Linked DNA regions of Homo sapiens: region 1 is linked to region 2. The links are contacts of gene promoters, found by promoter capture Hi-C in blood cells and fetal thymus (Javierre and others, 2016). All regions are on one chromosome and are shown on one strand. The core of a region is centred on a gene start or on the middle of the fragment in contact, and the rest is flanking DNA. Distances in the headings are between cores, read along the strand shown. Region 1 has its middle 17 kb from the start of DENND3. Region 2 holds the start of PTK2 (protein tyrosine kinase 2).

Evidence for each region. Contacts are between HindIII fragments. The CHiCAGO score rates a contact against its expected background, and 5 or more counts as called.
Region 1: a contact is called between a fragment that was not itself captured here and the fragment with the promoter of PTK2 in region 2, in 1 of 17 cell types (total B cells). The highest score is 7.4, in total B cells.

The regions. Positions count from the first base shown.
Region 1 is chr8:141,108,531-141,114,640 of GRCh38, forward strand. No RefSeq gene overlaps it. Among named protein-coding and RNA genes, the nearest start is that of DENND3, 17 kb to the right of the region's middle. RefSeq lists enhancers at 3,356-3,877, 3,878-4,397, 4,813-4,952, 5,553-5,632. The HindIII fragment of the contact is 3,921 bases long and covers 976-4,896 here.
Region 2 is chr8:140,997,683-141,003,482 of GRCh38, forward strand. It overlaps PTK2 (protein tyrosine kinase 2), which reads right to left and starts at 3,600. Exons shown (of 36, transcript NM_001352702.2): 1 at 3,443-3,600. RefSeq lists silencers at 3,265-3,594, 3,615-4,034. The HindIII fragment of the contact is 6,005 bases long and covers 1-4,833 here.

The sequences.
Region 1 (6,110 bases), core at 1,686-4,185, 110 kb after region 2:
TTTTTTCTACAATGAATGTGTATTACTTGGGTAATAAAAATAAGTTTTGGCTGGGTGCGGTGGCTCATGACTGTAATCACAACACTGGGAGGCTGAAGCAGGAGGACTGTTTGAGCCCAGGAGTTCAAGACCAGCCTGGGCAACATAGGGAGACCCTGTCTCTGCAAAGAATAGAAAAAATTAGCTGGGTGTGGTGACGCTCACCTGTAGTCCCAGCTAATTGGGAGGCTGAGGCAGGAGGATCACTTGAGCCAGGGAAGTCGAGGCTGCAGTGGGCTGCAATGGCACTGCTGCATTCTAGCCATCCTGGGCAACAGATACTGTCTCAAAAAAAAAAAGTTTTAAACAATGAAGTGGGGATGTGCTTGGGGTCTCTCCTCACGGGAACCCATTAGAGGGCAGAGCTGATCCTGCCAGCCCATCTGCCCACCTTGGGTGGGTTTTGGGGGCACAAACCCATCCTTGCCCTTGGCTGTGAGGCTGTCCTGGCAGCGCCCGCCAGCAAGAAGGTGGCAGTGCTGGGAACATGGGCTGTCTGGGACCCTAAAACTCCGCTGGGTCACTGCAACCTCCACCTTCCTGGTTCAAGCGATTCTCCTGCCTCAGGCTCCCCAGTAGCTGGGACTACAGGTGCCTACCACCATGCCCGGATAATTTTTGTATTTTTAGTAGAGACGAGGTTTCACCATGTTGGCCAGGCCACCGCGCCCGGCCATGTTTACCACTTTTAAGTGTGCAGTTCAGTGGCATTAAGCACATTCATAACATCGTATGACCATCACCACCATCACCTCCAGAACGGCTTCATCTTCCCCGGCTGAAACTCCATCCCCACGAAACACTGGCTCCCCATTCCCCTCCCCCAGGCCCCGGCTCCCACCACGCTTCTCACTGTCTCTAGGGACTCAGGTGAGTGGAATCCCACAGCATCTGCTCTTTCCTAACTGGTTTCTTTCACAGAGCGCCGTGTCCTCAAGCTTCCGTCTTGTTGCAGCACGTACCAGAATTTCCTTCCTTTTTGAGGCTAATGCAAAAATTAGCTGGCATGGTGGTATGCTCTTGCGGTCCCTGCCACTTGGGGGGCTGAGGTGGGAGGATCACTTGTGCCCAGGAGGTTGAGGCTGTAGTGAGCTGTAATCACACCACTGCACTCCAGCTTGGGCCACAGAGCAGGACCCTGTCTCCAAAAAAAAAATAAAAATAAAAATAAAAAAAATATATATATATAAATATATATAAATATATATATATATGGCTGGGTGCAGTGGCTCACACCTGTAATCCCAGCACTTTGGGAAGCTGAGATGGGGGGATCACCTGAGGTCAGGAATTCGAGACCAGCCTGGCCAACATGGCAAAACCCCATTTCTACCACAAATACAAAAAATAGCCAGGCGTGGTGGCGGGTGCCTGAAATCCCAGCTACTCAGGAGGCTGAGGCAGGAGAATCACTCGAACCACTAGGAGGCGGAGGTTGCAGTGAGCTGAGAGTGTGCCACTGCACTCCAGCCTGGGCGACAGAGTGAGACTCCATCTCAAAAATATATATATGTATCTTTAAAATAGGTAATTGCTTATCAATAGCACCAACTTCCTGAGCTATTAGGCCCCGCATCAGCTTTGTTGTCCTGATGCTATTCTCACTATGTCCCCTGCGGGCAACGCCGTCCACGCAGGCCACGTGTCTGTCTCTCATTCCAGCCGAGAGGCGTGCAGGGCCCCCTGGAGTCATTCTGGTCAGGGTGGGGCAAATCTGTAGGGTTGGGTTGAGAGGGGAATCCCGTGGCTCTTCTTGAGGATTTGAGGGGATTCCTTCAGCCGTGGTCCCAGGAATTCTCACGAGCCCCCATTCCGCTCCCGGGGCTGATCCAGACGCTGTGGATACAGCTGTGAGCAAGGGACCCACACTCCTGCTTCTCCTCTGAGTGAGGCAGGACCATCGCATGTTGAGAATAGAAGGAGGGCAAGGGCAGAATTAAATGAAAATTTGCTTCTGTCGTGGGAGGGGTGCATGTGTACGGTAAGAACGACCCCCCAGCTCTGCCCTTTATTTGCAAAATGTCTTTGAAGAGAAAGGAGGGCCGGGCACAGTGGCTCATGCCTATAATCCCAGCACTTTGGGAGGCAGAGGTGGGCAGATCACTTGAGATCAGCAGTTTGGGACCAGCCTGGCCAACATGGTGAAACCCTGTCTCTAGTAAAAACAAAAACAAAAACAAAAAATTAGCCAGGCACAGTGGTGAGCGCCTGTAATCCCAGCTACTGGGGAGGCTGAGGCAAGAGAATCCCTTGAACCCAGTAGGTGGAGGTTACAGTGAACTGATTTCGCGCCGCAGCACTCCAGCTTGGGCAACAGACGGAGACTCTGTCTCCAAAAAAAAAAAGAAAAAATAAAAAGAGAAAGTAGGAGCCATGTGTTCATTCCTTTGTTCACTTAATAATTCATTCATTCACTCATGCAAGACCATCACCCTGGGCCCTGAACCTGCTTCTCAGGTGGGCCACACCTGAACACATTCTACAGAGACTTCGAGGCTATTGGGGCCCATGTGTAGGGTCAGGGAGGACGGGCCAGTGGGTATGCAGAATAGGGTGGGGGCACCCAGCTTTGGGGTCCTTCGGGATTTCAGTGGATCGGCTGCTAATAACAAGCCCTTCCTGAGGGCCCCACGCTGCTTGCCTGTCGGTTCTGCCTCTGAACCACGAAGAGGCTGCCACCTGGCTCTGCTACGGTGACCGACCGTCCCAGTTTGCCTGGGACTGAGCGACTTCCTGGGAAGCAGAGCTGTTAGTGCTAGACCTGGGACAGCCCCAGGGAAACCAGGATGCTGGCCACTCCAGCTTCTGCCCACACGGCCTCCTCCACAGGAAGACTTCCTGAGCCCCTCCTCCCACAGCATGGCTCCAACGCCCTTGTGTTCTGGGGCCGTTGTTGGGGAATTCTGTTGGGACGGACTGTTTCTGTGGCCTTCTGGGGCTGTCCTTGGGGAATTCTGTTGGGACGGACTGTTTCTGTGGCCTTCTGGGGCTGTCCTTGGGGAATTCTGTTGGGACAAACTGTTTCTGCAGCATTCTGGGGCCATAGTTGGGAAATTCTGTTGGGACGGACTGTTTCTGTGGCATTCTGGGGCTGTCGTTGGGGAATTCTGTTGGGATGGACTGTTTCTGCACCTGTCTGTTGGACAAGCAGTTAAGCCCCTCATGAGTAGAGAGACCCTGCCTCGTCCATCCTTGTGCCTCCAGGGTCTAGCCCCATGCCTGCATGGCCGCCATTCCTGGACCTGGACTTGACATCCTGTTCTGAGTTGCAGTAGTTGTTCCGTAGTTACAAAGCAGTGTGTGCACGGGGAGAGGGCAGTGGCAAGGGAGCACCTGCACAGGTGAGTCAGGAGGAGCCGCTGCATGGGGCAGGTGGGGAAGGAGCAGAGGAGCACCTGGGCAAAGGCAAGGAAGGGCTGGAGAATTAGACGTAGCCAAGGTTATCTTGGGTGGGAGTTGGGAATGTGCAGAGGGGCTGGCAGGGATCTCGACGGAACACGTTGCCCTGTGGAGGGCCTTGAATCTGCCGTGGGGCTGCAGCACGTCTTGAGGGCACTGGGAGCCACTGGAGAATCCTAAGCTGAGGCAGGAGAATCATTAAGCAGGGGAGGTGCCTGACAATCCACGTGCTTCGCCAGGGTAGGGAAACTGGGAGGCACTGCCAGATGCAGGGGCCAGGGCAGAGGACAGAGCGGAGGCTGAGGGGGTCAGGTGGCACCTCCAGCCTTCTTCTGGGCTGGGTCTGCGCTGAGAGCTGCTTCCTGGAGGAGGAGAGATCAGTAGGGCCTGGGCCCCTAGGCCAGCATGTGGCTGCCCGGCCAGGAAAGTGCTACCAGAGAGGCACGGCCGGCTCCCTGTGGCTATAGCCTCAGCTCAGCGGGAGAGCTGGGGTCAAGCCAAGACCCTAGCAGGGTCCAAAGAGGGCTCCACCAGGCCAGGCTGGGGAGGAGGGCTGCCTGGGGTGATCACCCGTAGCCATCACTAGGAGGCAGACGGGGGATCGGCCCAAGAGGTCATGGCCACAAAGATGCTCCAAGGCTGGACTGTGGCGGCAAGTGTGGGGAACGAGGCTTCAGGGCAGAGCACTAATGCTTCTTTCTGCTGCACGCGGCAGGGCACCAGGCCTCTCCAGGGATGTGGACATGGGGGCTGGACTCCCAGCTGCAGACCTGCTGTGGGGTGCCTCTGATCAGGACTTCGGGGTGCCTCTGAGCAGGACTTCTTCTGAAGCAAGACTAACGGGAGCCTGGAGGCGACGGGAGAAGCCTGTTCAGAGTCCCCGGGATGAAGCGGGCCCCTAGTGAGCGGGACCTGCTGGCTAGCTGGGACCCCCCATTCTCTCTGTGTCAAATGGGCATGCTTGCTCTTCCCTCTTGAAGTATGGTGAGGATTAAATAATGGAGAAGGTGTAGACAGCTCTAAAACCCAATGAGTGCGGCTGTCGTCAATATGCAGGCCTCTCCGTAAACCAGCGTTAAAGAGCTCTGCAGAGTTTTGCAGACAGTGAGGAAGCCGTGTGCTTCCCGGCATGCATCCTTTATATGTTTCTCTGGGTGTTTGTTTCCAATTAGAATAATCAATTACACACTTGCCAGGTGTCTCATGTATGAGCCAGTTGGGAAGATTAAAACTGGACATTAATGCAGCAAGAGGAGGTGCTTAACTCGTGTGATAAGGTAGCAAAAACCAGGGTGAGAATAAAACACTTTCGGGAAAACTAAACAGCGGACTCAGTATCTGTCACCAAACTGTGGCCAGCGTGGTGAGGTGACAAGAACAGCCTTTCTGATCAGTTTGGAGGTTAAAAAGACTTGTGGAATGATTGGGTCATGAGAAGCACATGGTTTATTTCAGTAAAGCTTCTTTTACATAAGCAAGTTTTAGTCTAAAGAAAGATTTCACATTAAGGGAAAGTAGAATTACAGATTGACTCAGCACTTCATTTACATGTCTTTAAAAAGTGGCTAAGAAAAATAGTCCCCTTTGTAAGGGGCTATTGTAAGAAAATGATTGCAAGAAAAACCCCATAGTAATTGTAAGATGATTGTAAGAAAAACCCCATAGTAAATACAAAACCATAGAAGCCCTTTTTGTAAATCTTCCTCCAATGTCTGGGTTTTGGGCAGGGTGGGATGGAGTTGGGGCCCATGACTGGAGAGGCTTTGGAGTGTCAGCATCATGTAGGCGTGTCACCCACACTGGTCCCCTTCTGTGACCCTTGGGACGACCACTCCCCTTTAACGTAGAGAAAGGCAGTGGTACTTGAAGATCACCCAGGCGGGATTCAGCCCAGAGCTGGGTTTGCTCCAAACACCTTGCTTCTCTCTGTCGGTCATGGCAGAACGCCAGCCTCTCTGAGAAGGAAAGACCAACACCCATGCTTAGCAAGCCTCAAGACCCGCTTCTAAAACCTGCACCCTCGTTGGCCTTGGAGTGTAGCCTGGAGCAGGTCACCTGGCCCCTTGGGAGGTCCCAGAAGGCAGGACCCTGGCTGCCGTGTCTCCACATCCCTGACTTACAGGTGCTCAGTTAATGTGAGGTGAGGTGCCTTCTAGACTCCTTTTCAAGAGACTCATTACAAGTGGACTAGCGCTGTCCAAAAGAAATAGAATCCGTTGAAATCCTGTCATTTGCAACAACTTGGGTGGAACTGAAGGTCAACATGTTGAGTGAAATAAGCCAGGTGAAGAAAGACAAATTTTGCATGTTCTCACTCATATGTGAGAGCTAAAAATGAAAACAACTGAATGCATGGGACGGAGAATAGAAGGATGGTTACCAGAGGCTGGGAAGAGTTGCAGGACGGGCATGGTTAATGGGTATAAAACTATCGTTAGAATAAATAAGATCTAGTATTTGATAGCACAACAGGGTGAAGACAGTCAACAATAATTTATTGTATATTTTAAAATAGCTAAAAGAGTTGAACTGGAATTTTACTAACACAAAGAAATGATGCGTGCTTGAGGTGACGGACACCCCAATTGCCCTCATGCGATCATTATGTGTCACACATCTATGTCACATATACATATATAAGTACAGGTACTCATAATGATTAGAAATAAAAT
Region 2 (5,800 bases), core at 2,350-4,849:
AATCCCAGCACTTTGGGAGGCCAAGGTGGGAGGATCACTTGAGCCCAGGAGTTCACGACCAACTTGTGCAACATAGGGAGACCCCATCTCTACGAAAAATGTAAAAATTAGCTGGGAGTAGTGGTATGCACGTATAGTGCCAGCTACTCAGGAGGCTGAGGTGGGAGGATCACTTGAGCCCAGGAGGACCAGGTTGCAGTGAGCTATGATTGCACCACTGCACTCCAGCCTGGGTGACAGAACAAGACCTTGTCTCAAAAAAAAGAAATGTACATTGCTTTTTTAGACATGTTACTGCACACTTACTATAGTGTAAACCTAACTTTTATATGCACTGGGAAACCAATTTGTGTGACTCATTTTATCGCAGTGGTCTAGAAACAGACCAAGATATGCCTATACTACAGGAACTAAACTTCTCAGATGTTTTTCACCAGCAAAAAAGAAAAATTCACTTCAAATATGATACAAACAGTATAACTTTTAATGTTACTGAAATTTAAAACAAGAATTGATCTAGGTCTAAATCTACATCAGTTTAGAATGCCTAAACTGAAAATGTTAAATTTCAAAACTGAAACTTTATAAACACTTTGAAATGCATCTTTTGTAACTCAAGATAATTTTAATTATTTTCTAAAAATTAAGACATCATAAAATACAAGGGGAAAAAGGTTTCCATAACCTTTAGAGATATGAACTAAGATCCTACCTCTCTAACTCAAATCAACATTCAGGAAAGGACAGTTTTCAAAATTATTTTTTACATTATAGAATACAATATAAATAATTTCATCTACAGGACCTAATCTTTTTTTTTTAAAGAGGCTACCTTTAAAACAACAGGATCTTCAGGCCAGGCGCAGTGGCTCACGCCTGTAATCCCAGCACTTTGGGAGGCCAAGGTGGGCGGATCATGAGGTCAGGAGATCGAGACCACCCTGGCTAACACGGCGAAACCCCGTCTCTACTAAAAAATACAAAAAATTAGCCGGGCGTGGTGGCGGGCGCCTGTAGTCCCAGCTACTTGGGAGGCTGAAGCAGGAGAATGGCATGAACCCGGGCAGTGGAGCTTGCAGTGAGCCGAGATCGCACCACTGCACTCCAGCCTGGGCCACAGGGTGAGACTCCGTCTCAAAAAAAAAAAAAAAAAAACTATTTTCTTAGACAATTTCTCCAACTCCCTAGAAAGAACAGTTATCTGACTAGCTGGAGAACATGATTTTGAGGACTGAGGGAGTAAGTTATGTAATTTCCATCAAGAAGCATGGTGCTTTTCAGAAAACATTTTAGTATAAAACGTTTTAATGATCCTCACTGCCTCCTCACAATTTCACTGCTGGATTCATGGAACTTCACTCCTAATCTAACATTATTCACTTTCAATGGGCTTCCAGCCTCAAATAATAAGGCTTTTTAAGTCCCATCTCCTCTCAGAGTTTGCCCCAGTATTCTTTGCCCCAAACCGTAAACATGGAGTTTTGATTTCCATGTCTTTATTTAACCAATGACTTGCTTCTTGATGCATCACCACTGAATGATGTATGGGTCCTTCTAATCAGCGTCTACACTGAAGTCTTAGGTGATTGTCGGCTCCCTTATAAAGGAAGCATGTGTTTTAAATAATCTGTGCCTGTGTTCATTATTAAACTAGATTATTTGATAGTGACCTGAAATTCTTTAAAGGAAAACCTTGTAATATTGATCTTGTTGTTTCTGCAGTTTAATAAACAAGAAGGTTCAAAATGATGGTAGGTTCAGCCTGTTTTTCCCCACCAAGGATAACCACAAATACAAAACACAAAGATATTGGGACACAAACATCCTTAAAATGTTCCTTGTTTGAATATCATAGGGCTTTTCTAATTAATTGGCTAGTATAACTGGATGAAAATATTATCTATACTGTACCCCAACAAAAATACGTTGAATGCTAGTTTACTTTTATGTGTCTTGTAACTAGTTCATCCGTGTGCTTGCATCGCACTGCTCATAAGTTTTCAAATATGGGACGGAGTGCTCAACTCTCGAAGACATCATTTTCATTACCCGTTTCCCAAATAAAATATTAAGGTTGAGGCTCTGGTATTTCATTTCAAATAGTACTGGTCTGTTTTTCCAGCCATGAAAACGTTTACATTCTAAGTAAAAATCCTAGCGATGGTTAAGTCTTAAATACAAATCCCCAAACTCTTGCACTGCCTTCAGCTTTCAGCTTGAATGTATAACCAGTTCCCATAATTACTACAATATTACTATTATCTTAGTCTCATTGCCAAAAACCCAGCTGCAGGCTAACTATGCAAGAATGAGACACTGTTGAAATGACTCGGAAAAAAAAAAAAAAAGAAACTTTACCCTCACTGAATTTAGCTACAAAATTCTGCAATTAAATGAAACCAATTCACACACACACACACACACACACACACACACACACACACCCCTTCTTCTAAGAAAGAACAGGATGCCGCTACACAAGGAACCCAGAGAGAAATTCGGCAAACAGTTGCGCCTAAGCCACCGCGGCAGAGTCGGGGGCTGGGGGCGGGGAAGAGGAGAAAACTTGGGAAGCACAATGACTCCAGTGAGGACTTCAGTGAGGGCTCCAGGGCTCCCGCCAAGAAGCCCACGGGGCTCTACCAAACTTGAGGGTTTGCGTTCGGGGACACGGCGGGCTTGGGGCTCGGGCACCGGCAGGCCGCTCGGAGCCCACCCTTGGCTGCCCGCGAGGCCGCGCCCGGGGGACGGAGGTCGGGCCGTCGCGAGCCTCCCTCTCGCGTCCGGGCGAACCCTGCCGACGTCCCTGCGATTTCCCTCTTCCTCCTCCTGCCTCTCCCCTTTTGTTTTTCAGGCATTGGGTCCGCTCCGGCGGAGGCCGGCCCGTCCTCCCCGCGCCTCTGTCCGCCCTGCGCGCCCCCAGAGCCCCGGCCTCCTCGTCTTCCTCAGGCCCCTCGGCCTCTCCGCGCGCCCGGCCTTTTCGAAAGCCGCCCCCCCCTTCCTCCTCACGTCTCCCGGACTCCCCACGTCCCCCAGCCTTTCTGTCTTCCCCGAACCCCTTGGCCTCCCCGCGCGCCCCCAAAACCCCCGACCTCCTCGAGCTCCCGGCCTCCCCACGTCCCTCAGCCTCCCAGTCTTCCCCAAGCCTCCCGACCACCCAGCGCCCCGAACCCCCGCCTCCCAGCGCGCCCCCTGACCTCCTTAAGCCTCTCGGCCTCCGCGAGGGCCCCCAACCTCCTCACGGCCACCGGCCTCCCCTCCTCCCAGAACCCGGGCCGGGGGCGCGGGAGGGGCCGGTCTCCGCCGCATCCGCCCCGGGACTGGTTGGGCGGCCCCGCTCTGCCCCTCCGCCCTCAGGGCCGCGGCCCAGCCCACGACCGCTGCACAGAAGGAGCCCGCCCAGCCCCCGACCCGCGCCCCGCGCCCGGCGCCCCGCACTCACTCGGACCGCGGCTCGGCGCCGTGAAGCGAAGGCAGACGACGACGGGGCGGCGCTGGGCGACAGCAGCCGCGCTTCCTCCCACGCCTCACGCCGCGGGCTCACAGTGGTCCGGGACCGGCGGCGGCGGCGGCGGCGCGGGCTCGCGCCCTCGAGGCCGTGCTGCGTCGGCGCGGGCCCGCGCGCGTGCGCGGCAGCCGGCTGAGGCGCGCGTCCTCTCTCGGCAGCGCACGCCCGACCCGGTCTCAGTCCGGAGTTCCCGCCTCTCGGGGGGACTGGGCATGCGCGCCGCCCCCGCGCATGCCCAGCGCGCCGCTAGGCTCTGCTCGCGTAATTTGTCCTGTAGTGACCGCGCCGGGGTTTCGGGGTGGCCCGAGGCTGCGCGCGGGCGTGGCGGCCGGACGAGGAAAGCCCTGGTCTCGGGGGTGGCCGGGGTCGCCCCGCCGAGCGGACATCCTGGGGTCCCACCTGCCTCGCTCTCCGCCAGCGGGATTAGACGGACTTCGGGAAAGTCCTCCCCATCTCCTTCCCTGCCCCCAAATCCCGAAGGGGTCCCCTCTGGAGAACCTCCCTCCTGAGCGGCCCTGCGGCCCCGCCCCCAGAGTTGGACGCCCGCTGTCGGGCACCCGCTGCGGGCCCCGGGCCTTGCAGTGCACTCTCCAGGCACCACACCGACCCTAACGAGCGGTTCCTGGGCCCTTTTTGCAGACAAGGAAACTGAGGCTCAGAGATTCTTTTCATGGCATTATAGCTAAGTTGGGCTGGGCCATTATTTGATTTTGGAAGATGAAAAATCATGAAAGGGACTTAGAAGTCCACTGGAGGTAGACAGGTTACCTAAATGAACGCCAGCAGGGAACGAGCCCTGCAATCCCTCCCGAGGGCTACAGACCTGAGACGGGCTCCAGGAAAAGGAGGGAAGGCTCGCCCCGACACCGACCCGGGCTTCCGCGGTGTGAGCCAGTTTCAGCGAGGAGCTAGTTGGTTATGACCGGAACGTGCCGTAGGTGGGGTGGGGGAAATAGCAAAAGGCGAGGTTGGAGGGATTGAAAAATGCAGACGGCTGCGTGGGGCTTGCTTAGGTGCCTGGAGTTTATTCTTTAGGCAACAGGGAACCTTTGGAGGGCTTTAAGCAGGAAGTGATAACTGATTTGTGTTATTTAAAAAAAAAAAAAAGTCACTCTGGCAACCTTGTGGTCGGAAATGAAACCAGAAGAACCCTCAAGGCTGCAACTTTCATTTTTATGGTGTCATTTTGATGCTAACCACAAGCCAGGAAGCAGGACAGACAGGCACCGAGGCCTTTTGAAAGGTGAACACCCTGAAGCCCAGAGAGGTGACACACGTCATTGCATTAGGAGCTTTTATAAAAGTAAAAATGAAGTAAAATAAAAAGCTTTTGCTTATCAAGATTTTACCATATTTAAATGTTTGGGTTGTATTGTTCTTTAATGAGATGTATTAAGGTTGGTGTTTTTCTGGGTTTTGTTACTTTTTACTACATATGAAATTGTAAGGAATTGCCTCTCCATGCCAGCCTCAGGCCTTTGCGCGTGCTATTTGCTCTGCCTGGAACTTCTTGCTCCTCACTTCGTTCAATACCCTGCTTATATATCACCTCATTGATACAGCCGACCACTTCATATAATAGGAACCACCCACTGCCCTGCTATCCTCACACACAGTCCGCACTTAGTCTGCTCTGTTGTTCTCCAAAGCACCTATTGTTCACCATAGCCCAACACTGTGTTCTTGTTTATTTCTTGATTGTCCGCTCTCTCCACTAGAATCTTAGATTCATTAGAGCACGGGCTTTGTTTTGTTCACTAATAGGTCCTGGCACACAGTAAGTATTTGTCAAGTGAATGAACGAAGCTTTGGGTGATGTGAAGTGAGAGCTTATTATTAAAAGGATAAGAAAAGCATGGGAATTAAAAGAGGAGAGTGGAGGCACAAAGGGACTGCATTAAGGATAACTTTGGGGGAAGGGGCTGCACTTAGCATAGTAGACTAAAAATGGCCATCAATTCTTTGACACTTTTCCCAAGAAGAGGTGGAATTTATTCACCCCTTGAATGTGGATGGGATCTTGTAACTTGCTTTGACCAATGGGATGTGTCACAAGTGACATTGTACAAATTCCAAGCCTAGGCCTCAAGAGGCCATGCTGCTTTCATTTTCCCCCCTTAAGCCCAAGCTAGCCTCACGAGGAGGCCGTGTGGAAGAGAACTGAGGCACCCTGGCCAACAAGGTGCCACCTCCAGACATGTGAGTGAGCTGTACTAGACCACCCAGCCCCTGTGAAGCATACATAAGACCTGGAGAGACTGATGGAAGAACTGCCCAGCTGAATCCAACCCA